Linked DNA regions of Homo sapiens: all the other regions are linked to region 2. The links are contacts of gene promoters, found by promoter capture Hi-C in blood cells and fetal thymus (Javierre and others, 2016). All regions are on one chromosome and are shown on one strand. Each heading gives the region's core, a stretch centred on a gene start or on the middle of the fragment in contact. The rest is flanking DNA. Distances are from core to core; before and after follow the strand shown. Region 1 has its middle 410 kb from the start of LINC00562. Region 2 holds the start of HTR2A (5-hydroxytryptamine receptor 2A). Region 3 has its middle 340 kb from the start of LINC00562. Region 4 has its middle 380 kb from the start of LINC00562. Region 5 has its middle 320 kb from the start of LINC00562. Region 6 has its middle 470 kb from the start of LINC00562. Region 7 has its middle 440 kb from the start of LINC00562.

What was found. The method cuts DNA at HindIII sites, captures the fragments that hold promoters and counts their contacts. A CHiCAGO score of 5 or more calls a contact.
Region 1: a contact is called between a fragment that was not itself captured here and the fragment with the promoter of HTR2A in region 2, in 2 of 17 cell types (M0 macrophages and M1 macrophages). The highest score is 6.7, in M0 macrophages.
Region 3: a contact is called between a fragment that was not itself captured here and the fragment with the promoter of HTR2A in region 2, in 3 of 17 cell types (M2 macrophages, M0 macrophages and M1 macrophages). The highest score is 6.6, in M2 macrophages.
Region 4: a contact is called between a fragment that was not itself captured here and the fragment with the promoter of HTR2A in region 2, in 1 of 17 cell types (M2 macrophages). The highest score is 6.7, in M2 macrophages.
Region 5: a fragment that was not itself captured here is called in contact with the fragment with the promoter of HTR2A in region 2 in 3 of 17 cell types (M2 macrophages, M0 macrophages and M1 macrophages); the score reaches 9.9 in M2 macrophages.
Region 6: a fragment that was not itself captured here is called in contact with the fragment with the promoter of HTR2A in region 2 in 5 of 17 cell types (M2 macrophages, M0 macrophages, M1 macrophages and 2 more); the score reaches 16.6 in M2 macrophages.
Region 7: a contact is called between a fragment that was not itself captured here and the fragment with the promoter of HTR2A in region 2, in 3 of 17 cell types (megakaryocytes, M0 macrophages and M2 macrophages). The highest score is 7.0, in megakaryocytes.

Annotation. Positions count from the first base shown.
Region 1 is chr13:47,520,894-47,524,764 of GRCh38, forward strand. No RefSeq gene overlaps it. Among named protein-coding and RNA genes, the nearest start is that of LINC00562, 410 kb to the right of the region's middle. RefSeq lists an enhancer at 442-1,641. The HindIII fragment of the contact is 761 bases long and covers 1,735-2,495 here.
Region 2 is chr13:46,895,417-46,899,120 of GRCh38, forward strand. HTR2A (5-hydroxytryptamine receptor 2A) reads right to left here and starts at 1,637. Exons shown (of 4, transcript NM_000621.5): 1 at 1,258-1,637; 2 at 79-818. The coding sequence starts at 490. The HindIII fragment of the contact is 5,377 bases long and covers 1-3,558 here.
Region 3 is chr13:47,589,921-47,593,873 of GRCh38, forward strand. No RefSeq gene overlaps it. Among named protein-coding and RNA genes, the nearest start is that of LINC00562, 340 kb to the right of the region's middle. The HindIII fragment of the contact is 1,646 bases long and covers 669-2,314 here.
Region 4 is chr13:47,548,615-47,552,466 of GRCh38, forward strand. No RefSeq gene overlaps it. Among named protein-coding and RNA genes, the nearest start is that of LINC00562, 380 kb to the right of the region's middle. The HindIII fragment of the contact is 4,880 bases long and covers 1-3,852 here.
Region 5 is chr13:47,607,595-47,611,615 of GRCh38, forward strand. No RefSeq gene overlaps it. Among named protein-coding and RNA genes, the nearest start is that of LINC00562, 320 kb to the right of the region's middle. The HindIII fragment of the contact is 6,911 bases long and covers 1-4,021 here.
Region 6 is chr13:47,459,745-47,463,649 of GRCh38, forward strand. No RefSeq gene overlaps it. Among named protein-coding and RNA genes, the nearest start is that of LINC00562, 470 kb to the right of the region's middle. The HindIII fragment of the contact is 3,022 bases long and covers 1,066-3,905 here.
Region 7 is chr13:47,494,586-47,498,532 of GRCh38, forward strand. No RefSeq gene overlaps it. Among named protein-coding and RNA genes, the nearest start is that of LINC00562, 440 kb to the right of the region's middle. The HindIII fragment of the contact is 1,961 bases long and covers 1,620-3,580 here.

The DNA.
Region 1 (3,871 bases), core at 865-3,364, 630 kb after region 2:
GAGCTCAGGCAATCCACCCACCTCAGCCTCCCAAAGTGCTAGTGTGTCTGAAGTTAGTTCCTTCCAGTGGGTTCTTGGTCTCGCTGACTTCAAGAATGAAGCCACAGACCTTCATGGTGAGTGTTACGGCTCTTAAAGGTGGCATGGACCCAAAGAGTGAGCAGCAGCTAGATTTATTGTGAAGAGCGAAAGAGCAAAGCTTCCACAATGTGCAATGGGACCCCAGCAGGCTGCCGCTGCTGGCTGGGGTGGCCAGCTATTATTTCCTTATTTGTCCCTGCCCATGTCCTGCTGATTGGTCCATTTTACAGAGCTCTGATTGGTCCATTTTACAGAGTGCTGATTGGTGCATTTACAATCCTCTAGCTAGACACAGGGCACTGATTGGCGCGTTTACAATCCTCCAGCTAGACAGAAAAGTTCTCCAAGTGCCCACTTGACCCAGGAAGTCCAACTGGCTTCATCTGTCAATCCCCCCTCTAAACAGGACACCCCAACTGCTGTTGGGAATTGGGTGATGACCGCTCTAGCTACTTACTGCTGGATAGGGGCGAAGAAGGGGCCCTGCAGTGTTAGTGTCCTCCAGAGGGGAACTCTCTAGGCCAGCCAAAGGGTCAGTGGGTTGGTCCAGGGGGTCCTCGGTAGAAGTTGTTAGTTGAGCTCATTTGGGGTTCCATTCGTAAGACCATCAGTAGCTTGATGGCCTCGATCCTGGAGGAAACAAATTTGATAAGGAGGTTAAAAACACAGAGCCCGAAGGCGAGTAATAGCAAGATGGCTGTCACAGGACCTAGAAAGGGGAGAAGCCATGTTGCCCAACTCCAGAGGTTGGTATAAGAGTTTGAAAGGTGTTGCCTGATGTCAGAAGCCTTTTCCTGTAAATGCTGGGTGGCATCTCGTATGATCCCTGACTGGTTAGTGTAAAAACAACACTCTTCCCCTAAGAAGGGGCAAAGTCCTCCTTTCTCAGCAGTAAGGAGGTCTAGGCCTCAGCGGTTTTGGAGAGTCACTGCTGCCAAAGAGTCTATTTGGGACCGTAGAGTAAGGATAGATTTTGTTATTTCTTGCAAACTGTCTGAGAAATCCTTTGATAGTGTGTGGTAGTAGGATAATGCAGTAGATAAACCTACTATTCTGGTTTCTGTAGCAGTAGCCATTCCTAACCCTATAAGTAGGGGTATTAGTTGTATGGCCCTGCACTGATGGACTTGAGCTTTGAGGAGCACTGATAGGGTCTGACTAGGATTACAGGCTTGAGCCACCACACCCAGCCCAAACTGAGATATTTTTTATAGTAACAGCAATGTTTATTAAAAAGTAGAGTCAAGATAACATGAGTAAACAAAAATGTAAGTCATCCTATTTCTGGGACACCCACTTCTCATAGCCACGGCAACCAGAAATAGACATCAGAGGTGACATGGACTCCAAAAATAGTTGTGACATATCAGCTTTACCAGAATTTATGATACTATGAAACTTTGACCAAGAAGATCTCAGGGTAAGTGTATTTTATAAATTCTGGTACTTTAAAATAGCAGAAAGTAACTAACTTTTCTTATTCAGGATAATTTTTTATTTCAAAATTCTGAAGTAATCATCCAATTCCTTCATTAAACTGGAATTAAGTGTTGGAGATAAAGTGGACTATTGGCATGATCTTAGAGAACTAAGTTTTATACCAAGTTTTGTAAATAAATAAAAGTATGTTTCAATATTGATTTTTAACTTCTAAGCTTTCCCAGGACAGATTTCTTCCCCAAATCTCCACATTTTAGTGCAATTTATAATTTTTGCAAAGTGTCAGCTGGGAACATTTGTATCTAAAACACAGTTTAAAGATTGAAAAGGGGCTGGACATGATGGCTCACTCCTGTAATTCCAACAGTTTTGGGAGGCCAAGGTGGGAGGATCACTCTAGCCCAGAAATTCAAGCCCAGCCTAGGCAACAGAGGGAGACCCCATCTCTACAAAAAATTTTTTAAAAAATCACCCAGGCATGGTGGTGTGCGTGTGTGGTCACAGCTCCTTGGGAAACTGAGGTGGGAAGATTGTTGAGCCCAGACAATGTAGGCTGCAGTGAGCTGTGATCCCAACACTGCACTCCAGCCTGCAGAGCTTAGCTAGAGCCTATCAATCAATCAATCAAATCAATGGATGCTAAATGTTTAAAAGCTATATAACCTTGTTGCTCCAAGCATTGATAATTTAGGAGTTCTTAATACCTCCTTCCATATTCAAGTCATTAATAAGTTATTTCGTATTCTTTCCCAAGTCTCTCTGAATTTTTTTCACCTTTCTCTGGTTCCATTATTGTCCCCTAAGCCCCAAATATGCCATTATCTCTAGCCTGGTCTACTGCAGCATTCTCCTAATTAGCTTCTCCTATCTACCTTTGCCCCTTTCCAATCCATTCTCCACATGGTACCAGAATAACCTTTTCAAAATGCAAATCTAGTTATATTACACCCCCACCCCACACAGAACTCTTCAAAAGCTTTTTATTTTCCCATAGCTAAAGGCCAAAATGTTTCACATGGCCATTAGCACCCTACTTGCTCTGGACCCTCAGAGCAAAATAATGTATTATCTTTGCTACAGTCAGAAAATACTGTTTTCTATATTTTTCTATTCATCTGGCTGAGTTTCTTAACAAATATATTACCTTTTTCCAAGATGCATTTTATTAGAAACAACTCTAATCAGCAGAGTCTACATACTTCATACCAGTTTGCTTTGGTCTACTATTTTACTGCTTTGAAGCAGCTTTAATTAATGGTTTGCTGTTTTCTCTGGAAAGCAAACACTTTACTCCAAAGAGAATGAAAAACCCCTGAGATAAATTGTACAATAATCAAGAAGCTGAATACAGTTTTCTCTAGGAATTGAAATCATTTCCTGAGAAATTCAATGTGCCTGTTTCACTGGAAGAAATTCTATTGCCAGCACTTTATTTATTGATTCTCTTAGGCTTGTGTGATCTTTTGTTCCATAAAATTGGGCAGTTTCAAGGTTTGATATACCTCAGCCAACTAACAGCAAGAAAACAATCTACCCATTTTCGGCACCATGCAGCAAAAAGTTGTCCTGAGCCTGACCTAGCCTGGGAACCTTACCTCTTCTCATCCTTTGTTCTCCTCTTTAATGCTAATCATGTGAACTGTGCTAAAAAAGCCAAGCCAAAAAAGTGAAATCCTGCTCTCAGCCCCAAGGACCTGTCACCTTTTATATGAAACTCAGCTTAACTGAGATCTAAGAGGTTCAGTTCTATAGAAGGTTTTACAGAATGACTGTCTGCTCCCAGGAAAGCTAACTTGGGGTCAGGCAACTAGATAATAGAGGAAGCTACCAATCTGCTTGAAAGACTTTTTATAAATCTTTTATATGCTGAGGTTTTAGGGGTTTTGTCCCAGCAGCCCAAGATCTTTGCCATGATTTCCAATATAGTCTTCCTTTGGATGTAACAGGGCTTTACTCATATTCAAGTTACTTTTTTTTTGGTGTATTCTCTTTATTCTGATCATTCTGATCATTTCCTTTATGTATTTCAAATACTGATATTAGACCTTAGAAGCTTTAATTATGTTTATGTGCATAGTATTATCTTCCCCAGAATCTTGTCTTTGAATCTGTTCATTTACAACTGTGTCCTTAGTGTTACATGTAACAATATTGATCCTCACGCTTGTGCCTTAGTAACACTGGTGGAACATTCCTTGTGAATAATGGCTGCATTCATTTTCTATTGCTGCAGTAACAAATGACCAGAAGCTTAGTGGTTTAAAACAACACAAATTTATTTTCTCAGAGTTCTGGAAGTTGGAAGTCTGAAATGTTTCTCACTGGGCTTAAATCAAGGTGCCAGCAGGGC
Region 2 (3,704 bases), core at 387-2,886:
CCCCATCTCATCTGCTGGTGGCATGCACATGCTCTTTATTACCAGTGCGAATATAGCTGGGAAACTAATGCCACTCACCATACAGGATGGTTAACATGGACACGGGCATGACAAGGAAACCCAGCAGCATATCAGCTATGGCAAGTGACATCAGGAAATAGTTGGTGGCATTCTGCAGCTTTTTCTCTAGGGACACTGCCATGATGACGAGTATGTTTCCAGCAATAGTTAGAATAATCACTACGGCTGTCAGTAAAGCAGACCAGTTTTTTTCCTGGAGATGAAGTAAGGAGAGACACGACGGTGAGAGGCACCCTTCACAGGAAAGGTTGGTTCGATTTTCAGAGTCGACTGTCCAGTTAAATGCATCAGAAGTGTTAGCTTCTCCGGAGTTAAAGTCATTACTGTAGAGCCTGGTGTCATCATTTAATTGCATTAGGGAGTTCGTAGTTGAGCTCAAAGAAGTATTTTCTTCACAAAGAATATCCATGTCTAAGCCAGAACTTGTAGCAGATGAGGTGTAGAAGGACTAACAGGTTATAGTTTCTGCTCACCATTCACCTTGATGTACCCACACTCTGTAACACTGAGGCTGGTGTACATGCTGTTCTCCCGGGGCTGGATTTTTGTCTTCCATTATTACAATGATAGTTAAAGAACTGAACTGTGGTGGCTGTAAGTTTTCTTCATTCACAATTTTAGGAGAGTCCACTGTTTGGTTTTATTATTTTCTCACCAAACCGAGGACAAAAAAGCAGAATGAACTTTTAGCATAGAGGTTGCAGGGTTTTTTTTGAGCGCTCGGGAAGATAAATGTCCTGGACAAAGAAGAAAAGTTTTATAACTACTGGGACTCTTGTTTAACTATATCTCATTTTGTTGGTTATGCCGATGGTACTAGTTTAGCAACAGTATTATTAAAATAGCATGCAATCAGAAACAGTGGGGATGTACACATTCTACATTAAGAAAGTCAATTAAAAATACATCCAGTGTTAATCCCATAGTAATTGGATGTACTTTGGGTTACAGTTCTCAGCCATTCTTAAGCTGAATTGCCACAGCTGCTGTCAGGAATTTCAGCTCCTATAATGTTGCTTAGCTAATAAAAGGAAAACAAAAAAGTCTTAAGTAAAGATTAGCAGACAACTTTCCTCCCTGGAAATTCTCATTGAAATGATTACATGTTGGCCAAGCATGATTTCAAACCGGAAAGAAAATTACACAGCAATAAAATATAGCGGCATGAGAACTTACATTTGTCTTCAGGGTCCACACATGAGATACATTTGTTATTCTGTGACTCGCTGCATCTCTCACAGTAATTAAACTGGTGTAGAGTCCCCTCTTCTTGATCTTCCACCAGCATAATATGATAGTAATTTGGTTTCTGTTTTGCTGACTTCAAAAACTGCATGCAAGAGCTGAGCCAGCTCCCGCACTGCTAGGATCCTGTTGGCTTCCTCTGGCACGGCTCGGCTGGGTTCCTCCCTCCCTGTGCGGCTCGCCTCAGCAGGCACACATTTAGAAATCATTCACGAGCCCCTCAAAGTCGCACAAAAGAACTGCATGGGAAAGTAGGAAGAGCTGTCTGCACCAAGGGACTCCTGGTTTCCACGGGAATGGAGTAGCTCTCTGACTGTCTCGTTCATTTCATCAGACCTCCCTCTATGTGTATGTCATAAGCTGCAAGGTAGCAACAGCCAGGAGGGCGGACCAAACAGGCTTTTTCTTCTCCCTCTTTTTGCTACATATTAATATTGGGAAGTTTTCCTTTGCTTTTGAGAGAAACTGGAGAAATGGCCTTTTGTGCAGATTCCCATTAAGGTAGGTAAGTGGCACTGTGGTAATTTTTTAGGCTGAAGGGTGAAGAGAGAACATAAATAAGGCTAGAAAACAGTATGTCCTCGGAGTGCTGTGAGTGTCCGGCACTTCCATCCAAAGCCAACAGTGTTTGTGTCCAGAGTGGAATTACTGACATTGGCCACATAGGCTCAGGGTGGCTAGGCACGTCTGTGGTGATAACTCTGATAAACTATTAGCACTATTTTTATTTAATAGATACACCATTGAACTGGCTTATTTTCTTCAGCAGAAATATGCCACCCAGATATTATTCAAAACCTCACATGTGGTAGGAAATAAGTTGGTTTCGCAGTACCAATTTTTTTCCCCCACCAGTAATGACAACTTGCCTTACTTGTAAAGAAAGCCCTTTCCCAAGTAGGTTTCTAAAGGAGGCAGTTCGATCTCTCTCTTTTTGCAGGCATGAAAATATTTTCCTCAATAGTTGGGTTTTGCTACAGTTCTATCACCTTCTGTTCTTCACATTCTCCCTGGACAAATTCAACCACTCTCATGCCTTCAATATGTTTGTGGCCAAGTCTGTACCTTCATAGCTGATTATTTCTCTCAGTTCCAGACCTAAATCTCTAGCTGCCCATTGGCTCCTTCCATGGTAGCCTGGGAGACCTTGACCTCAGCATCTTCCCTCACTCCGCATCCCCCTGCCCGGCTCTCAGTGCTTGTTCCTACCCATTGGCTTGCATGATGGAATCACCACCTCTTCAGACAGCTGCTGTTATCCGCGACTCTTCCTTCATTCTCGCTGCCAGATCCCACTTCGTCTCCGGTGCTACCTCTGTATGCGTGTTTCTCACATGTCCTCTCCTGCAGCCTGCAGCTGGCACCCTGTGGTCGAGATCTAGCCACCTATTTCCTGGGTGGGTGCCTTAGTGCCCCCCTCACTGCCATGCCTGCCACCCTCCTACCCCTCCACGTTAAATATGCACGCTGGCGAGCAGGCAGCGGAGAACACAGACCTTAGAGTTCCTTGGTTTTGGATCCTAGCTCTATCACTCATAAACAGTAGAACCTCGCCTCATCTAGTTGCTCCCTTTAAAGCTCAGTCTTCTCACTTGTAAAATGGGATAATACCTTCCTCATAAGATTGTAGTGAAGCTAAACTGAGATAATGTGTGTAAGTATTTGGCCCATGTCTGGCTTATAGGAGGTTCTCAAGTAATGTCAGCCACTTTCATTCCTATTGATATTCTTACTGATATTAATGACACAATTGGCATCACTCCCATGCCTACACTCCTGCAGTCCCTTCCTTGTGGGGCACATAACACTTTTCTTCATCTACCTGTACCCTGCTTGCCCCACTTTGCAGGCCTGGACTCTGGTTACTCTCCCAGTCAGCCTGTATGCAGACTGAACTTACATGTTTCTGACCATTTTTATGTCTCTGTACTTGTACTTCCCTGTGCCCGGAGTGCTCTTACCATTCCTTTTTTGTGTGTGTCCATCTGGCAAATTCGTGCTTAGTTCCAGAGCAGCTCTGGATCCCAGGCCTACCACTCACCACATCTGTAAGCGTGATTAAGCTACCTAATCTCTGTGTTTTAGTCTCCTCATCCGCAAGTAGGGAACATTAATAATAAAAAGACCTCAGGATTGACGTGAAAGCCAAATAAATTTACATATTTGCCTGGCACATTTTAAGCACTCAATAAAGGTTAGTTGCTATTATTCTTACTAAGTTTACTGTTCCTAAGCTTTCTGTAGCCCTCCTTCCCAGTGGAGGCAAAGACTATAGCACCTTCTGCAGCCTTCTATTTTTAACACATCATGTCTCATGTAAGCCTCATAAAGGCAGGAACTGTGTCTATCTTGTTAACAGCTGGGCGCATAGTGCTTAA
Region 3 (3,953 bases), core at 242-2,741, 690 kb after region 2:
GGGACTGGGGGTGGGGGCAGACAAAACTAATATGGCAAATGTTAGGGATTAGATTGAATGCATCAGGAGAAATACAAGGAGACAATGGACTTCATCTTGTAGCTCTGGGGATTCAAGGGTAAGGAAAATATGAAAAAAAAAATTTTTTTTTAAGAAAGAATACAGTAAAGAAGATAGATTTTTATATCTATATTGTAAAAATCTGCTCTAAAAGATTTCTCATCAGTTTTTTCCAATATTTTTGCTAATTTCCCCAGATAATTAATACTTATTCCAATTCCACATTGTCTTGTCCGTAAGAAAACACCTTAGACTGGACAATTTATAAAGAACAAAAATTTATTTATTATAGTTCTGGAGGCAGGGAAGTACAAGATCAAGGCACTGGAATTGGTGTATGGTGAGGGCTGCTCTCTGCTTCCAGAATGCTGCCTTGTTGTATCCTTACATGGAGGAAGGTGGAAGGGCAAGAGTGCATCTCTTTCAACCTTGAGTCCTTTTGTAGAAGCGCTAATCCCACTCATAAGAGTTGTACTTGTCCATTCTCACATTGTTATAAAGAAATACCTAAGACTGGGTAATTTAAAGACAAGAGGTTTAATTGGTTCTGCAGGCAGCACAGGAAGTATGGTGCTGGCATCTGCTCAGCTTCTGAGGAGGCCTCAGGAAGCTTACAATCATGGCAGAAGGTGAAGGGGTAGCAGGCATGTCACATGACCAGAACAGAAGCAAGAGTGAGGGGGGAGATGCTACATGCCTTTAAACAACCAGATCTCACAAGAACTCACTCACTATCATGAGGATAGTACCAAGGGGGATGGTGCTAACCATTCATCAGAAAACTGCCCCCATAATCCAGTCACCTCCCACCAGGCCCCACCTCCCACCTTGCAGATTACATTTTAATATAAGATTTGTACAAACTTAAACAAATTTACAAGAAAAAAATCAAACAACCCCATCAAAAAGTGGGTGAAGGATATGAACAGACACTTTTCAAAATAAGACATTTATGCAGCCAACAGACACAGGAAAAATGCTCATCATCACTGGCCATCAGAGAAAAGCAAATCAAAACCACAATGAGATACCATCTCACACCAGTTAGAATGGTGATCATTAAAAAAGGAAACAGGTGCTGGAGAGGATGTGGAGAAATAGGAACACTTTTACACTGTTGATGGGACTGTAAACTAGTTCAATCATTGTGCAAGACAGTGTGGCGATTCCTCAAGGATCTAGAACTAGAAATACCATTTGACCCAGCCATCCCATTACTGGGTATATACCCAAAGGATTATAAATCATGCTGCTATAAAGACACACGTATGTTTATTGTGGCACTATTCACAATAGCAAAGACCTGGAACCAACCCAATTGTCCATCAATGATAGACTGGATTAAGAAAATGTGGCACATATACACTATGGAATACTATGCAGCCATAAAAAAGGATGAGTTCATGTCCTTCATAGGGACATGGATGAAGCTGGAAAACATCATTCTGAGCAAACTATCACAAGGACAGAAAACCAAACACCACATGTTCTCACTCATAGGTGGGAATTGAACAATCAGAACACTTGAACACAGGGTGGAGAACATCACACACCAGGGCCTGTCATGGGGTGGGGGAAGGGGGCAGGGATAACATTAGGAGAAATACCTAATGTAAATGACGAGTTAATGGGTGTAGCACACCAACATGGCACGTGCATACATATGTAACAAACCTGCACATTGTGCACATGTACCCTAGAACTTGAAGTATAATAAAAAAAAAAAAAAAGATTTGGGTGGAGACATACATTGAAACTATATCAAGGGTGGTGCCCTCACAACATAATCACCTCCCAAAGGCCACACCTCTTAATACTGTTGTATTGGAGATTAAGTTTCTATTTGAATTTTGGAGAGAATACTATCATCCAAACCATGGCTTTCTGCCCCTGGTCTCCTAAAATTCATGTTCTTCTCACATACAAAATACATTCATTCCATCCCAATAGCTCGAAATATTCTTAACTCATTCCAGTATCAACTTTCAAGTTTGAGTCCAAAGTCTCATCTAAATATCATCTAAATCTGATATGGGTGAGACTCAAGGCACAATGCAACCTAAGGCAAATATCTCTCCAGCTGTAAAATCAGCTTGTTTGTGAAATCAAGCAAGTATGCACTTCCAAAATATAATCGTGGCACAAACATACGATAGGCATTCCCATTCCACAAGAGAAAACTAGGCAAGCATAAAGGGGTAACAGGTCTCAAGGAGGTCCAAAACCCAACAGGGAAAATAACATTAAATCTTAAAGCTTGAGAATAATCTTCTTTGACTCCATGTCCCACTTTTCAGACATACTGGGGCAGGAGTTGCATTCCCAAGAGTCCAGGGTACCCTGCCCAATGGCTTTTCTGGACACAGCCCACACTGCAACTCTAACAGGTTTGAGTCAGAGGCCTACAGCTCTCCCAAGCTGGCATTGCACACAGGTGGCTTTTCAGGCCTGGGGTCTCAGGGATGGCCCTGCTCCAGTGGCTCCACTAGGCATTGCCCTAAGTTGGGGCTCTCTGCAGTGGCCCTGACCCTAGGGCTCTGCTGGGCACTGCCCTAATTGGAGCTCTCTGTGGTAGCCCCACTCCTGCAGCAGGTCCAAAGCGTGGGCCTCAAGGTTCTCTGAGGCACCTTTGAAATCTAGGTGCAGGTAGTCATGCTCCCTCAGCTAATGCACTCTGTACACCTGCAGAGTTAGCACCTTACAAACACCATCAAGGTTTATGGCCTGTATCTTCTGAAGCAGGGACCCAAGCCCCACTGAGGCGCATTTGAGGCACAGCTAGTGACACTAAGGAATGCTGCTTTGAAATTCAGGGAGCAGAAACTTGAGAAGGCCCTGAGCAGTGAGCTCTGAGGTCCCTCTCTTGAAATCATTCTGCACTCTGGGCCTGTAATGGGAGTGGCAGCCTAGAACAACTCCAAAATGCCTCTGGAGTCATTCTTCCATTGTCTTAATGACTAGCACCTGACTTCCACCTATTTATACTAATCTTCTTTTCAAGTGTAGCTTTGTCACACCCTTGGTATTCTCTCCCAAACTCAGTTTGTCATTCTTTATATGGCCAGGCTAAGAATTTTTCAACTCTTTAAATTCTGCTTCTCTTTTGACTATAACTTCTGTCTTTCATTATTTTCTCTCTTTTCAAATTTCACTATAAGCAGCTGAGAAAAGCCATGTGGCACCCTGAACACTTTGCTTAGAGATTTCTTCTGCCAAATATCCTAGTTTATTGCTCTTAAGTTCTGCCTTCTACAGAGCATTAGGACATGGACATAATGCAGCCAAATTCTTTGCCACTTCATAACAAGGATGGCCTTTCTTCCAGTTTTCAATAAGATATTCCTCATTTCCATCTAAAATCTCATTAGAATGATCTTTACTTTCCATCTTTCTACCAGCATTCTGATCATAACCACTCAGATCATCTTAAGAAGATTCAGGCTCTGTTTACAGCTCTCCTCATCTTCTGAGCTCTCACCAGAATTACCATGGCAATGTAGGCTTTTTCTAGCCTCCACCGCTACAATCTTCCAGCATCCACCCATTACCCAGTTTCTTGGTATAAATTTGTTTGGCCTGCTATAACAAAATACTCTGTGTAGTTTATGAAGAATAGAAATGTGTATCTTACAATTCTGGAGGCTGTGAAGTCCAAAATCAAGGTTCCAGCAGGTCTAGTGTCTGGTGAACACTGTTTCCAAGATGGTGCCTTATTACTGTATCCTCACATGATGGAAGGCAGAAGACCAAGAGAACACTTCCTTCAACCTTGAACGCTTTTATAAGGGTGCTCATTCCATTTATGTAGGCAGAGCCCTCATGACTTAATGACCTTGCAAAGGCCACATCTCTTTTTGTTGCATTGGGAATTAAGTTTCAACATGAGTTTTGGA
Region 4 (3,852 bases), core at 772-3,271, 650 kb after region 2:
CAGCCAATACGTGTGAGGATTCATCTGGAACTCTGTTTTGACATGTAATGGGGGATGAAAACAATTTCCAATTCATAGCATTGTTGTAAAGAGTCAACAAGTTAAATTAACAAAACAGCTGTGCAAACTGAAGAGCAACACAAATTTAACATGACATTTTTATTATTGTTATTACTTTTGTGTGTCAGATGTAGCAACCAAAGAGAGGTAGTGGTCTTGCCATGCTTGTCTGCAACAAAGGAACTTTTAAAACAGTGTTAGTGAATACACTATGGCTTAATGTTCAGAACTTGATATCTAGAGGCAGACAAACCTTTCTCTCTATCTCGTCCTAGGCATTTACCTAATAAATTGAAGACACTGGTGATTATATTGAAGACATTAGCGATTATAGATTATGACATAATGCCTTTTATCTGCTGAACACTTTATTTTAGAATGAAAGCCTACATTTAATTAGCCATGGGTTTTTATCATACATCATTTGTGTGTATGTTAAAAGGAAAATATGTGTGAAAGAAATTGGTTAATGTATTTCTAAAACCTGTTCACACACACAGTTTGACTCTTCTGAATCACTGGACAACTATGTTTTTCCACACCCTATCATTTCGGTGTCCATCCAGAGCATGGGTAATGCAGTGTTTTGTAAGGAAACCTCAAGCTACAGGAGCTGACTTCACAGTTATGCAGAGCTAGCCAACGTTTAATTCCAAATTGGAAAATGGTGCTAACAAAATCTAATATACCGTCTCTCTCACCATCCCCACAACCCATTTGGCTCTTGAGGATTAAAGCCTCACCACTGCCCCCTGGGATTTTCTTCTAAATCTTTGGTACACATTCTGCAGGTTGTCCTGTCACTCTTGATGTCTCTGCCTGAACAGACATGACTCTAGCTGGCTGAAGCAATTGTAAGACTCCATTTTTCAGATGCAGTGTGATGACATCTGACAAAATATTTTAAAAAGAGTCTGTCTTAAAAAATCAAACAACAGAATAACCTCTCTAAAGCTCTGTTTCCTTATAAGACAGGATAATAGTACCTACCTCTCATGGATGTTGTGAGGACTGAATGAGATAGTCCAGAGGGAGTGATTAGCAGTGTCTGGCACAAAGTAAGCATTTAATAAGTGATACTTACTGTTATAATTATTAGTTAACCTTGGCTGAAAAATGATTTTCTGTAAATACCACGTATTGCTTTATCCACGCTCCAGTTTGCTCTTCCCACCTTTATGTGTATATGTGAGGAGCTAATGACAGGGTGTTCTTTCCTTCAGTTTCTCCTCGGGATTTCATTATAGGTGCTTCCTGTTGCAGTAATTGATAGTTTCATATCCCCAGGTGAGGGATGGGTCACAATTCTGGGTGGTTCCAACATTTTGATGCATACCACCCTTGTGCCTTGTATCTGAACAAGAACTCAGGTGTAAGGGTTTCAAATGGATTTGAAAGAAATGCAGCAGGAAAGCTCCCCTTTGGACATTCTAGAGAGACTAAAAGCCCTCCAAGCAGAAAACTAGGGCAGAGGCTTCACGAGTTTAAGGTGTCAGGCGATGTGCCTATAATGTGCCCATAATGTGCCCAGGAGTATAGGAGCCATTCCCAGATGGATCAGTAGCTGAAGAATGACCACCCAATGACTGCTTTAATTACTTACCAACCTGAACGGGAAGTATGCTTATGAGTTCTTGAAGCCTCCTTTCTCTAATTTGGTTTTCTATTTATCCCTGGTATAAAGCCTCCTCTCTTACCAGGCTTGAAGTTCTCACTATTATTCTTTCTCTGGGAAACAGTGAAAATAAAGACACTAAGTCTAGAAGAGTAATGCAAAACAAAACAAAAAAGCACATTTTACCTAGGACATGAAGGTGCCCATCAGAGCTCTCTCATTGCTAAAATTAAGTTATTAATGAGATTGTACTTTCATGTTTCTCAAATAGTCTAACTAGAGTATTACCTGGGTGAAATTCAAAATAAGAATATACCTTAATTTTTCTGAGATCTGAATTTAAATGTCTGTATTATTATAAACATGACATTTTTTGTACTAAAGACAGATCCCCATGGAACATTTGAATCAACATATTCCATGATCCTATTATTGCTTTTAAAAATATTGTCTTAGCGCATTGGGGCTACTGTAACAAAATACCATACATTTGGTGACTTATAAACAACACAAATTTATTTCTCACAGTTCTGGAGGTTGGAAGGTCCCAGATTAAGGTATTGGCGAGTTCAGTAACTGGTGAGATCCCATTTCCTTATTTATAGATAGAGGCTTCTCGCTGCATCCACTGGGGCCTCTTTTTTTTTTTTTTTTTTTTTCTCAGACAGAGTCTCGCTCTGTCCCCCAGGCTGGAGTGCAGTGGCGTGACCTCGGCTCACTGCAAGCTCCGCCTCCCGGGTTCATGCCATTCTCCTGCCTCAGCCTCCCGAGTAACTGGGACTACAGGTGCCCGCCACCATGACCAGCTAATTTTTTGTATTTTTAGTAGAGACGGGGTTTCATTGTGTTGGCCAGGATGGTCTCGATCTCCTGACCTTGTGATCTGCCCACCTTGCCCTCCCAAAGTGCTGGGATTACAGGCATGAGCCACCGCGCCCGGCCTCTTTTAAAAAGGCACTAATCTCATTCATGAGGGCTCCTCCCTCGGGATTAAATCACCTACCAAAGACCCCCCACCTCCTAATACCACCACATTAGTGATTAGGTTTCAACATATGAATGTGGAGGGGACACAAACATTCAGACCATAGCCATTACCAAACATATCTCTGTTCCAAGGAAGGGGAGTAAAACCTCTGTGCAACTGTTGTTTCAACTCCATGGCTGCTTATTATGACCACTGATGTTTACATTATTTATAGAAGCCAGAATATGGTGGGTTTTGTTTTCTTTGATTATATTACTCAGAAACCTTTTGTTTCCTAGATGCTTCCTATCCTTCCTTATAAGAATTACAAACATGCCAGCAATCATTTTCAAGCACCTTAGTTTCACTAGTTATCAGGGATGCAGATGAGCAAAGATAAATTCAAAGAAACATGCTTAAAGTGAGGGAATTTTTTTTTACCAGACCTAGAACAAAATATACACAATTCAGATTTCACAGACAGACAGGGTTTTGTAGGTGACCATATGCTAACACTGAATGGAACATCAGCTTCATTTGAGATGTGAAGGATTTCACTTGTTATCAGTCCACTGTAGAAGACTTTGTGCCATGGTTATGCATATTAGTTGTGATGACAAAATAAGAGGCAGATTCTACATAACATGCACAAAAGAGGAACATATGTACACCAATATAAATAGATATATATCAGCTTGTATCCACATCTCACATTTGCTTATTACCAAAAACGACATGAGAAATGCAGTCAGAGTTGCTTTCTTTTCCCTTTTCCTTTTACCTATCTACCAATAGAAAAAAGTATCACCCAATTCCTGTCCTAAGACCCATCTAATCTCTTCTTATTACCACTTTTTAGGGCTTGTGGAATAAGCACATCTATTTCTACACATAATTAGAAACAAAGAAAGTCAAGATTGGAATGTGTCAGAAGTGGTTTAATACTTGAGATTTACCAAATTGGAAACTTTAGAGGCTCACTAGAAGTCCCTATCAATGCCCAGTTGATACTGAAAACAATCTCACAAGTCACTGACACTGACCGCATGATATCTGCTGTATGCTCTAAGAATTACTTTGCCTGAACAGATTCCACCCGCAATGTAGGGCCTGGCTGGTAGAGCAGGCTGGAGCTCTAGGAACCAGTTCTGCAAATAGCCTTCTCAAGAAATTGGCCTCACGAAAGATCCAATAGCTGAAATCGATCTGT
Region 5 (4,021 bases), core at 180-2,679, 710 kb after region 2:
ACAAGAAACTGATAAATTCCTTGACACATACAACCAAGATTGAACCATGAAGAAATAGAAAACTTCCACAAACCAATAACAAATAACAAGATTGATGCCATAATAAAAATGTCTCTCATCAAAGAAAAGACCAGGATCTGATGGATTCGCTGCTGAATTCTACCCGACATCTAAAGAATAATCTCAATCTGAAACTCTTCAAAAAAAAATTGAATAGAGGGAATACTTTCAAACTCATTTACAGAGCCATTATTACCTTGATATCAAAATCAGATAAGGGCACAACAAGAAAACTACAGGTCAATATCGTTGATGAACATAGATGTAAAAATCTTCAACAAAATACTAGCAAACCAAATACAACAACACATTAAAAAGATCATTCACCATGATTAAGTAGGATTCATCACAAGGGTACAAGGATGGTTCAACATGCGCAAATCAATAAACATGATACATCACATTAATATAATCAAGAACAAAAATCATGGTTGTCTCAATAGATGCTGAAAAAACATTTGATAAAATTCAACATCTCTTTATGATGAAAAACTGTCATCAAATTGAATGTAGACAAAAACACATCTCAAAATAATAAAGACTATATATAAGAAACCCACAGCTAACATTATAGTGAACATAGAAAAATTGAAGGCCTTTCCTCCAAGGATTGTAATAAGACAAGGATGCCCACTTTAGCCACTTTTTGTTCAACACAATACTGGAAGTCTTTGCCAGAGAAATTAGGCAAGAAAAAGAAATAAAGGGTATCCAAATTAGAAAGGAGGAAGTCAAATGAGCCTTGCTCACAGACAACATGATCTTATACCTAGGTAAACCTAAAGAATTAACAAAAAAAAACTTTAGAAATAATAAACAAATTTGGTAAAGTTGCAGGATATAAAGTCCACATACAAAAATCAGTAGCATTTATAAATACCGACAGTGAACAATCTGAAGAAATAAAGAAAGCAATCCCGTTTACAATACTACAAAGAATAGAAAATACTTACGAATCAATCTAACCAAATAGGTGACACAGCTATACAAAAAAACTATAAAACTCTGATGAAAATATTGAAGAAGACACAATTAATATTGTTCAAGTAGACATGCTATCCAAAGTAATTTATAGATTCAACACAATCACTATCAAAATACCAATGACATTATTCACATAAATAGAAAAACAATTCAACATTCATATAGAACCACAAGAGTGCTCAAACAGTCAAAGCAATCCTACGTGAAAAGAATAAAACTGGAGGCATCATGCTCCCTGACTTCAAAATTTACTACAAAGCTATAGTAATCGAAATTGCATGTTACTGGCTTAAAAATAGACATAGACCGTTGGAACAGAATAGAGAACCCAAATATGAATTCATGCATTTACAATCAACTCATCTTTAACAAAGGCGCCAAAAACATTTGTTGGGAAAGGACAGTGTCTTCAATAAATGGTGCTGGGATAACTACATGCTACTACTTACTACTAGATAATTACATGCAGAAGAATGAAACTAGACCCCTATCTTTCACCATACACAAAAATCATATTTAAAATGGTTAAAGACTTAAATTTAAAACCTGAAACCATGAAAATATTAGAAAAAAATTGAGCAATGCTTCATTGGTCTGGGCAAAGAATTTTTGTGTAAGACCCCAAAGCACAGACAACCAAAGCAAAAATAGGCAAATAGTATTCCATCAAGCTAAACAGCTTCTGCACAGCAAAAGAAATAAAGTGAAGAGAAAACGTACAGCAGGGCAGAAGATATTTGCAAATTGTCCATCTGATAAGGGATTAATAACCAGGATATAGAAGGAGCTCAAACAACTCAATAGCAAGAAAAACAAATAATTGATTAAAAATGGGCAAAATATCTGAACAGACATTTCCCAAAAGAAGACATGCAAATGGCCAACAGGTATATGAAAAATGCTCAGTATCACTAATCATCAGAGAAATACAAATCAAAACCACAATGAGATATCATCTCATTTTAGCTAAAATGACTTTTATCAAAAAGACAGACAATAAAAGATACTGGTGAGGATGTGGAGAGAGGGGAACCCTCATACATTGTTGGTGGGAATATAAATGAGTACTGCCACTATGGAGAACAGTATAGAGGTTCCTCAAAAAACTTAAAAATAGAACCCCTGTATGATCCAGCAGTTCCACTACTGGGTATATATAAAAAGAAAGGAAATCAATATATTGAAGAGATATCGGCCCTCCCATGTTTATTTCAGCACTACTCACAATAGCCAAATATGGAATCAACCTAAGAGCTCATCAATGGATAAATGGATAAAGGAAATCTGATTTATATACATAACAGAATGTGATTCAGCCATAAAAAAATGAAATCCTGTCATTTGCAGCTACATGGATGAAACTAGAGGTAGGCTGTTATCTTAAGTGAAATAAACCATGCACAGAGAGACAAATATTGCATGTTCTCACTCATATTGGAAGCTAAAAAAGTAGATCTCATGAAGATAGAGAGTAGATTGGTGGTTACCAGAGGCCAGGAAAACTAGGGAGAAGGGGTAAGAAAGGGGGGAAAAAATAATATAAATGTACATATTACCACTGAATGGTACCCTTAAAAATGGGAAAGATGATAAATTTTGTGTATTTTACCTCAATAAAAAAATTAAAATAGAATTAAAAGATAAAATGAAATGTGATAGGATAAGAAATAGTAAAAAATGGACATTAAAAAAACTTAAAATGTTGATTCAAGTTCCATTCTACAAGGCTCTATGTCAATGTTGTGTTAAATGAATGAATCTCAGTCTGTAAATTTCTGTGTGTAAGCATTATAGCCTCCTTTACTTTCAACTACTCAATTTCTATTTTGGGCCCTATTCTGCTGGGCTGGCAGGAGAATTTAATCCCAGTTGTTTTGTTTCTCTCCTTTTGTTACCCTGAGAAGTTGAGTTGAAATTTAGCATCATGCTAAGGTGCTGGAAGGACCACTGGATCCTTTAGTCTTTCATGAACTTTACTGAAAAGTTGTGGTTTTTCCCAGTGTGTCAGTTCCTGAGATGCTTTCTACAAACCTGATTATGGCTGTATCTAATATAATATGTGGCCACACCCAGCACCTTGCATCTCCAGCAGTGATTCTGGAAAGCACAGGTTTCCACTCTCTAGAGCATCATAAACTTCTTTAAGGTCCTCTCATCTACTGGTAGCACTGCTTGGAAAATGATGCATGACCCTTACCACTATACCATCACTAACACACCACCACCACCACCATCTCTACCAAGTCGACAATCACCACCTTCCCCACTACCACTACCACCATCACCACCATCACCACCACCTCCAACGCTATCACCACTACTACCACCGATGACACCACCATAACCACCCTTCTTTTCCCTAAAGCCCAGGATCAAATTGCTCTTTAGTCTGGAACAATCTTTAGTCTTGAAAATGTTTGACCAAAAAAAAAAATTTTAATAACCTAATCTCTCTTTTGATTTATTCTCTGGGGCTTAGGGTTTGGAAGCAAAATTTAGGAAGAATCCCTGATTATTTCTGCATCTCATTCCTGCCCTGAGAAAATGAGCAGAGGGCTGGCTGACTGAGAGAATGAGGAGGTGTATTAGACTGTTACTCCCTGCTGTAAAAAAGTACCTGAGCCTGGGTAATTTATAAGAAAAGAGGTTTAATTGGTTCATGGTTCAGCAGGCTGTATAGAAGGCCTAACACCAGCCTCTGCTTCTGGGGAGGCCTCAGGGAGCTTTTATTCATGGTGGAAGGCGAAGTAGAAGCAGACACATCACATGGTGAAAGCAGGAGCACACGAGAGAATTGGGGGTGAGGGTGCTACCTGCTTTTAAACAACCAGATCTTGTGTGAACTCAAACTGAGAGCTCACTTATCACCAAGAAGATGGCCAAAGCCATTCATCAGGGATATGCCCCCATGATCCAAACACTTCCCACCAGGCCCCACCTCCAACACTAAGGATTACATTTCAGCTTGAGATTGGGG
Region 6 (3,905 bases), core at 1,327-3,826, 570 kb after region 2:
TAACAAAAGCCTTTAGGATTAGCTGCCTCTTGCATTGGTAGCTGTGAGAAAGAACCTGAAATTATTACCAACTGAAACTGGAGAAAGAGGGCTTTAATGTGGCCTCCTGTGGTGTGGGCTAATGCCAAAAGGGGTTCAGACTTATAATACTAAGGACACATATCTCATAATCCTTTTCCCAAAATTTTCCCCACAGATTGAAAGTCGCAGCTTTTATACTGGGGTGGGGAAAAAACAAGTCAGGTCTGAAAGCGGGACAAAAATAAATCTCTCTCTTCAAAAGTCTGATTAGCATTCTGGATCTAGATCTTGGGTGAGTTTATACTTCTCTTCCACTAATAATTCCTTCCAGTCACGATACTGTCCAGTGGAGATGAAGTTTGAGCAGTTCCATCTTTCCTACCAGATGATTGTGGGAAGTGAATATGCTTTAAATATAATCAGCCTATTATCTAGCTCAAGGAGTAAAGTGTTCTTTTTAATTTGACTATCATCACCCCATAAGAAGCGCATCCTCCATATGCTGAAGTGCGGTAACCTGTGGGCTGCAGCTTTGCTTTTGCACTGCAGATTTTTCAATGTAATTGCATGTAACACTTTATTTATAGTAATGTAAAAGTACTTAAAATCCAATTACATAGCTGGAAAGTGCATATCTCTAAACAGATGCAGAATAATTAAAAAGAAATCCAGTACATATCTATAGAAACTCTTTAGAATTAGCAAAATGACTTATTTCAATATCCTCTGAGCAGCTCCTCTGGTTGAATTGCCAGCCTATATTAGGTACATTAGCCTAATACACATTTCATATGGCTTAATGGGGAATTAAAATGTAGTTTCCTTGCATTTGTTTTTCTTTTTTAGTTTATGACCCAGATAATTCCTGTAGTAGTGATATGTTTCCACGAATTTCCTTTGCCCAGAGATGGTTTGAGTGAGTACAGTTCCTTGCTGGGGCCAACCTTGGAGGTGTTTAGTGGTGGACAGAGGGTAAAAGGATTGTGTTTTCAATGTGGATAAGAAAAGTGTGGCTTTATGAGATGATATTTGCTGACTGCATCAAGCTTCCTATATTTCATATCTAAAAAAATCATAATTGGGAATTCCACCACCCTGGGAAATCCCTGGTCATTATCCACTCATTCTAAGAGCAGATAGGAATACCATGAATAATGGAAATCCATCCAGAGTGCTATTTATACTCTTAATTATTCTTGTATGTACCACCCAAAACAAAAACCAAACACACAAACTGTTTATCAATATAAAAAGTTGATAGGTATATTTGTTTTTGGTAATGATCATTACAGCCTAAAAGCTAACAATCCACATAAATCTAACAGTTTCTTAAAAATGAAACTATTTTGCACATAGGAAGATTCTTGTTCTACATTGCAGTTAAAAAAATTACTCTCAGTTGGCTGAGCACGGTGGCTCATGCCTGTAATCCCAGCACTTTGGGAGGCTGAAGCAGGCAAATCATGAGTTCAGGAGTTCGAGACCAGCCTGGCCAACATGGTGAAACCCTGTGTCTACTAAAAATACAAAAATTAGCCAGGTGTGGTGGTGGGCACCTGTAATCTCAGCTACTCGGGAGGCTGAGGCAGGAGAATTGCCTGAACCCGGGAGACGGAGGTTGCAGTGAGCCGAGATCGCGCCACTGTACTCCAGCCTGGGTGACAGAGTAAGACTCTGTGTTGGGGAAAAAAGCAAAACAAAAAAAAATTACTCTCAGTTACTCTCAGCTAAAACTCCTGGCCTTCATGAAAAATAATCTCTTTGAAAGTTCGTATTAATAACTTCAATATTGCATTAATGTAATTATCAGTCTTTAATGTATGTGGCATAACTGAAAACATTTTCAGTAACAACAATATATTTATTATTTATACCCAGCATGAAGAAGTTGAACTTGCTATGGAAACCAGGAATTTATTCATTATACTCAATTTTCTCTTCATAATAGAAATAATAATCCTAGCATTTTTAAAAACTGCCAACAGTTTCCACATTGTCTAGAAGCTGTTTTTTCTAGATTTACATGTCTTTTTTTTTTTTTTTTTTTTTTTTTTTTTTACCATTCTCATGTTTCTCAGCAGTCTCAACAGAAATTCAGAAATGTTGTTCCCAATAGATATGAAGGTGACTCCAGATCACTTCGTCCCCCACCTCTGCCACATCCCTTAGGTCATTTTCCTTGTAGCTTGATGCCCTCTTGCTCTCTCCTCTGCCTCCTTCCTTATCAAAACAGCTCCCAGAAACAGACCTGGTGTGAGTCATTTTCATGAATATGAATGTCAGTAGCTCTATTATCTTGTTTTCAGGCAAATGAGTTGCAGGTATCAGGAAATGGAAAAAAAAGAGGTGTTTTAAGAAAGTGAAATTTTTATAGTTATAGTAAATCACCCCACAGCTTCACCTTATTAGCCCCAACATAATATTAGTTTATGAGGGAGAAGAAGGAATGGTCATCTTAAATTTATAAATTAAATAAATCCATGTGGGGCTTCATGACCTCTATGATTTTGGTTGTTCACCCATGTGTTTGACAGAACACACTTCCCTTTAGGTTTTGTGACTGTAATCCAGTAATTTGTGACTTTTTATTCACCGATTTCTAATCTGTGCCTTTTCTGTCACTTTCTTTCTTTTCTTCAATTGAGGGACATCCACTCATACTTTTCTGCAACAGTTACTATGAGACTGAATGAAGGAGGATGAATGCAGAAATGAAAACTTAAGACAAAAGAAACTGTTTTAAAGAAAGGGTCAGGGGGCTCCTTCCTTCTAGGGAGCAAGGGCCTTGAGCTTCCACAGCCCTTTGTATTTATTGGGCAGAAAGAGCAGGGAGGAGGAGCTAACAACTGGTCAGCTGCTTGATTGATCACAGGCTCACATTATTGCTAACAGGCTTCAGATGTGCCTAATCACAAGAAACACTGCGCCTGGGGCGCGACTGCCCTCAGCATTCCCTCTGGGTGGCAGACGCAGTTTGTCAGTTTGCTAACAACCTGCTTTCATGAGAACAGTTTGCTGTTTACTCATATAGCCTCCAGTGGTACACTGAGTTGGTCACGACTCTCATTCTTTCGGCCTCCAACACTTTTCTATTCTCTGTTTCTTCCTTTCTTATTTTGCCAATTGCATTCTTCTGATGCTTTATTTCAAAAAGATGACTATACCTATTGCTCCTGTTGACCACCATTATCATTATATAAGAGATGATTTGCAAAATGGTGCACTAGCCACACGGTTTATGTCACCTGCTCCCTATTCCAGATGAAGAAGTCTAATCACAGGGGGTGAGTGACTTAAGTAAGGTCACATGGCAAGTGGCAGGTGGCCAGCAGCTTTTTCTCTCACCACCCAGGAGCTGTTAATCCATTTCTCAGTTGGCTGGACCAGCATGCTCCTGGGCAGAAAAGGCATAAGAAGGATGGATGGCCATGCCAAAGCAAAGACCAAGGTTCATGTGGAAGGGAGCCCTCTTCTGTAGCGATGGTCACCTGGGTCAGGCAGAACTCTTATTCTGAACAGTTTGACAATGAAAATTCCATAAGAGGGTGGGGAGCAAGACAGCTGACTAGAAGCAGCCACAATCGAGGCTCCTGTCAAAAAGAACCATAATAGCATGTGAATCCTGCACCAACAACCTAGGTATCCAGGTTCTCTCATCAGAACTGACTAGGCAGCTGGCATGATCCACAGAGAGGAAGGAAGAGCAGTGTGGTGCAGCAGCCCACCTGAGAGCCACAGGGAGCAGGGGAACCCCAGCACCCCCGCCAAAGGAGGCAGTGAGTGAGTGTGCCACCCCCTGGGGAAACCGTGCTTTTTCCATGGAACTGTGCGCCCCATGGAGCTGAAGACCCACTTACGAACCCATGCCACTGGGGCCTAGGGTC
Region 7 (3,947 bases), core at 1,350-3,849, 600 kb after region 2:
AGGGAAATGCAAACTCAAAGCACAATAAAATATCACTGTATACCTGCTAGAATGAATGAAGCCAGACAGAAAAGAGTAAATATCCATTGATTCTATTCATATGAAATTCTAGAAAATGCTAACAAATCAATAATGACAGGAAGCAGATCAGTGATCGTCTAGAGAAAGCTGTGTGAGGAGAATGAAACAGGGGGGAGGGAGCAACCCAAAAAAGGAAATACAAAGATGCATGAGGAAACTGTTGGTATGATGGATATGTGCCTTATCTTAATCATGATGATGGTTTCATGAGTGTGCGTATGTCAAAATGTACCAAAATGTGTATTTTAAATATGTGCAGTTTATTGTATTTCAATAATATATTTAAACAGCTGTAAAAATAGACAAAACTAACTTATTTTCAATAGAAATGCACACAAAAACGGTGAAACTACAAAACAGCAAGTAAATGATGACACTCAAAAGTCAGGGTACTGGCTGCCTTCAGTGGGGTTAACGGAGAGAATGGTTGGTGATCAGGGAGGAGTACATGGTGGCTTCCAAGGGGCCAGTTTGACCTGGGGTGGTGATTTGTGGGAGTTTGCTTTATAAAGGCTGTGTGTGTGTGTATGTGTGTGTAGCACTTTTCTGTATCTTAATTATATTTCATATAGCACACAAGGTAAAGAAGAAATAGAAGTGGATTAGGAAGGATGAAGGGAGGGAAGAAGGAAAGGAAGGAGGAGAATCAAAAGCAAGTAGGAGGATGGTGAAATGGAAAGATCACCCAATTAAGTACCTGGAGATCTAAGTTGCAGTTGTGTTTCTGCACATGAGTCAATGGAATATAGGAAAAGTCAATCAATCTCTTTTTTTTTTTTTTTTTTTTGAGACAGAGTCTCACTCTGTCGCCCAGGCTGGAGTGCAGTGGCGTGAACTCGGCTCAATGCAAGCTCCGCCTCCCGGGTTCACGCCATTCTCCTGCCTCAGCCTCCCGAGTAGCTGGGACTACAGGTGCCCGCCACCACGCCTGGCTAATTTTTTTTTTTTTTTGAATTTTTAAGAGAGACGGGGTTTCACCATGTTAGCCAGGATGGTCTTGATGTCCCAACCTCGTGATCCGCCCGCCTCAGCCTCCCAAAGTGCTGGGATTACAGGCATGAGCCACCGCACCCTGCCCAGTCAATCAATCTCTTTATGCCTCACTGATTTCCCTACCTGAGGTTTATTAGATGCCGCAGAGTCTGAAATAGTCGATTCCTAACAGGTCCTCCATCACTTTGAATCTTTAAGATCAGTCCCTCAACAAATAACTGCTAATGGACTAATGCTACTACTCAGATCAGAAGCAAAAACCCTTAAAAATCCAAAGGAATATGTTCCTGATATCAAAGCTTGTCCCCAGGGAAAGGCAGGGGCAACTTCAGTCATACTGTGTAAGAGAAGAGCAACTTTATGAGCTTGTCACTCTGTTCTTTCTTTAGTGCTGCAGTTGAAAGAGCACTGCAATTGGAGTAGAACGTTTTGAGAACAAGTAGTGGCTTCCCTTCCCACTGATTGTGTCTTAGTTTCATTTTCAAAGCAAGAATAACAACAGCTAACACTTCTATAGCGTGTATGGTGTATCAGGCACTGTTCTAAGCTTTACACGTATGTGTATTTACTCATTTAATTCTCACAATGCTGAAAGAGATATTATTATCCCCATTTTATGGGGTGGGGAGGGAACAAAGGCTGATAACAATGGTATGAGATTATTGTGAGCATCATCACATAAAATAATGTATATAAAATGTCTTCCTATACTTAAAACTACATGTATATATACAGTACTTTAACAATATACCAATATCAAGAGAACAAGAAGACACAGAAAATATTTGCAAAAGACACATCTGATAAAGGACTGTTGTCTAAAATATATGATGAATGCTTAAAACTCAACAAGAAAGAAAATAAATTTTAAAATGGGGAAAAGATCTGAATAGACACCTCACCAAAGAAGATATACAGGTGGCAATAAGCGTGTGAAAACGTGTTCAACATCATATGTCATTAGGGTAAGGCAAATTAAAACAGTAACGAGATGTCTTACATACCTGTTAGAATGGCAAAAATCCCAAACACTGACAATGTCACCAGTTGATAGTGGGGGAGTCTGTGGGTGTGTGGAGGCAGGGGCTATATGGGAACTCTACTTTCTGTTAAATTTTGCAATGAATCTAAAAATGCTTTAAAAAATCTATATTAAATACATATATACACATATATATGTGTAGATATGTGTGTGTATATATATATATGTATATATATATATACACACACACATACTAATGAAAGTAAACTCACCCTTTTACCATGATTTGAATATACTGTGATTGGATGAACTTAGTAACACACACACACACACACACACACACACACTCTCTACAACATTCCCGTTTAAGGATTTCTGATGTTAATTTGACAAATAACAGATTTTCTAAAGAGTTCTAACCATTTGCCACTTTAAAAGATTCAGTCATCCAGGCTTTTCCAGAAATTACAAAATGAACCTTTATACAAAATGCTTCTCATCCAGCATTGAGTTGAAAAGGAGAGACTACAAAGCATCTCCTCCCTTCATCCTGGCCCCTGCTCCAGGCACTGCTCATTCATCACTGTCATCACACAACCCTGCCTGTATTCCTCTCCTGCTTAGGAAGACAAGGTACATAAACATTTTGAAGGAATTCACTGGGTGCCTGATATATGATGAGAATTTTAAAATAAATTTACACCTCTGGTAACCAATAAAATAAAAGCACAGAACAAACTGTACTTTTTTTAATGAAAAAATCATAGATAACTAAGCTAAAAATTGTGGCCCTAGTATAGCTATTTAGAAAAATCCATTCGTCATATACCAAACAGATTAAAGTCCAAGTTGAAAATTTACATGCACTTTATAAACCCACCAGCTCTTTGGAAAGAACTTGAATTTCCCATGTGTATACTACATAAGTTTTTCAAGCATAAGCAATCCATTTGTCTTCATTTAGCCTTCAGCCACTTTTTATTCCCAAGGAATTGCTTGGCCATTGAAATACAACTTACTTTCAAGGTGGTATATTTCTCAGAAGAGAGTTTAACTTCCCAAGAGCCTGAGGCCTGAAGAGGAAATGTGGACCATCCTGGGAGGTTACGTATAAATCAGAGTTAGGAAATTTTCACAAAATACCCTGGGATATGAATGACCCTCCAGACTCACCATCAAAGTAGTATCAGTGAAGAAAGGAGCAAAGAAAGGCCTTCAAGCCCAATCTCCTACTTCCAAGTAGGACTGCACCAGCCACTGGCCTGGGTCATGTGAGGTCCAACTTATAGGAAGGCTTTGGAGTGGGACACTTAGGGGGAGCTTTGACTGTTATCAGGCAGAGTACAGCCAGGATATTGAAACCACCTAGTTATTTTAGCAGAGAATTTGATATAGACAATTATAGAGAACAGCAAAGGCAAAGGGAGACGGTGAATTGTCACAGAGGAAGTAAATGTGAGAAGCACAGCTACCACCCCCAGGGCTGAGGAACAATGAACGCTTTGGGGATTACTAGAATTTAAAAGCTTGGGTGAGAAGTCCTGCAGAACTGGGAACCAGACCTGTAAAGAGGGGAAACTGCTGGCTGGTGCAGGCTGGTGCTGGCTGCTCGGAGGGTGGCAACCAGGCTGCCTCTGGAAGTGTGGATGAAACTGTAAAGTAGAACAGACTGCCACGTCCAGCATGAAGAGCTAATTCTGAGACGATGTTGACAGCAACAGGAAGCAAAGCAGGAAAGAGTAAGTTCCTTCTCCTTTCCTCCTTTTAGCCTCCACCAGTGAAGAACCAAACAGGGAGCCACATGGCAAAAACTAAATGTGAATTGCAGGGTTCCAGCCCCATCACAGGAAAACAGAGTAAGGAAGATGGGTTTGTGCTGATAGTCAATAGC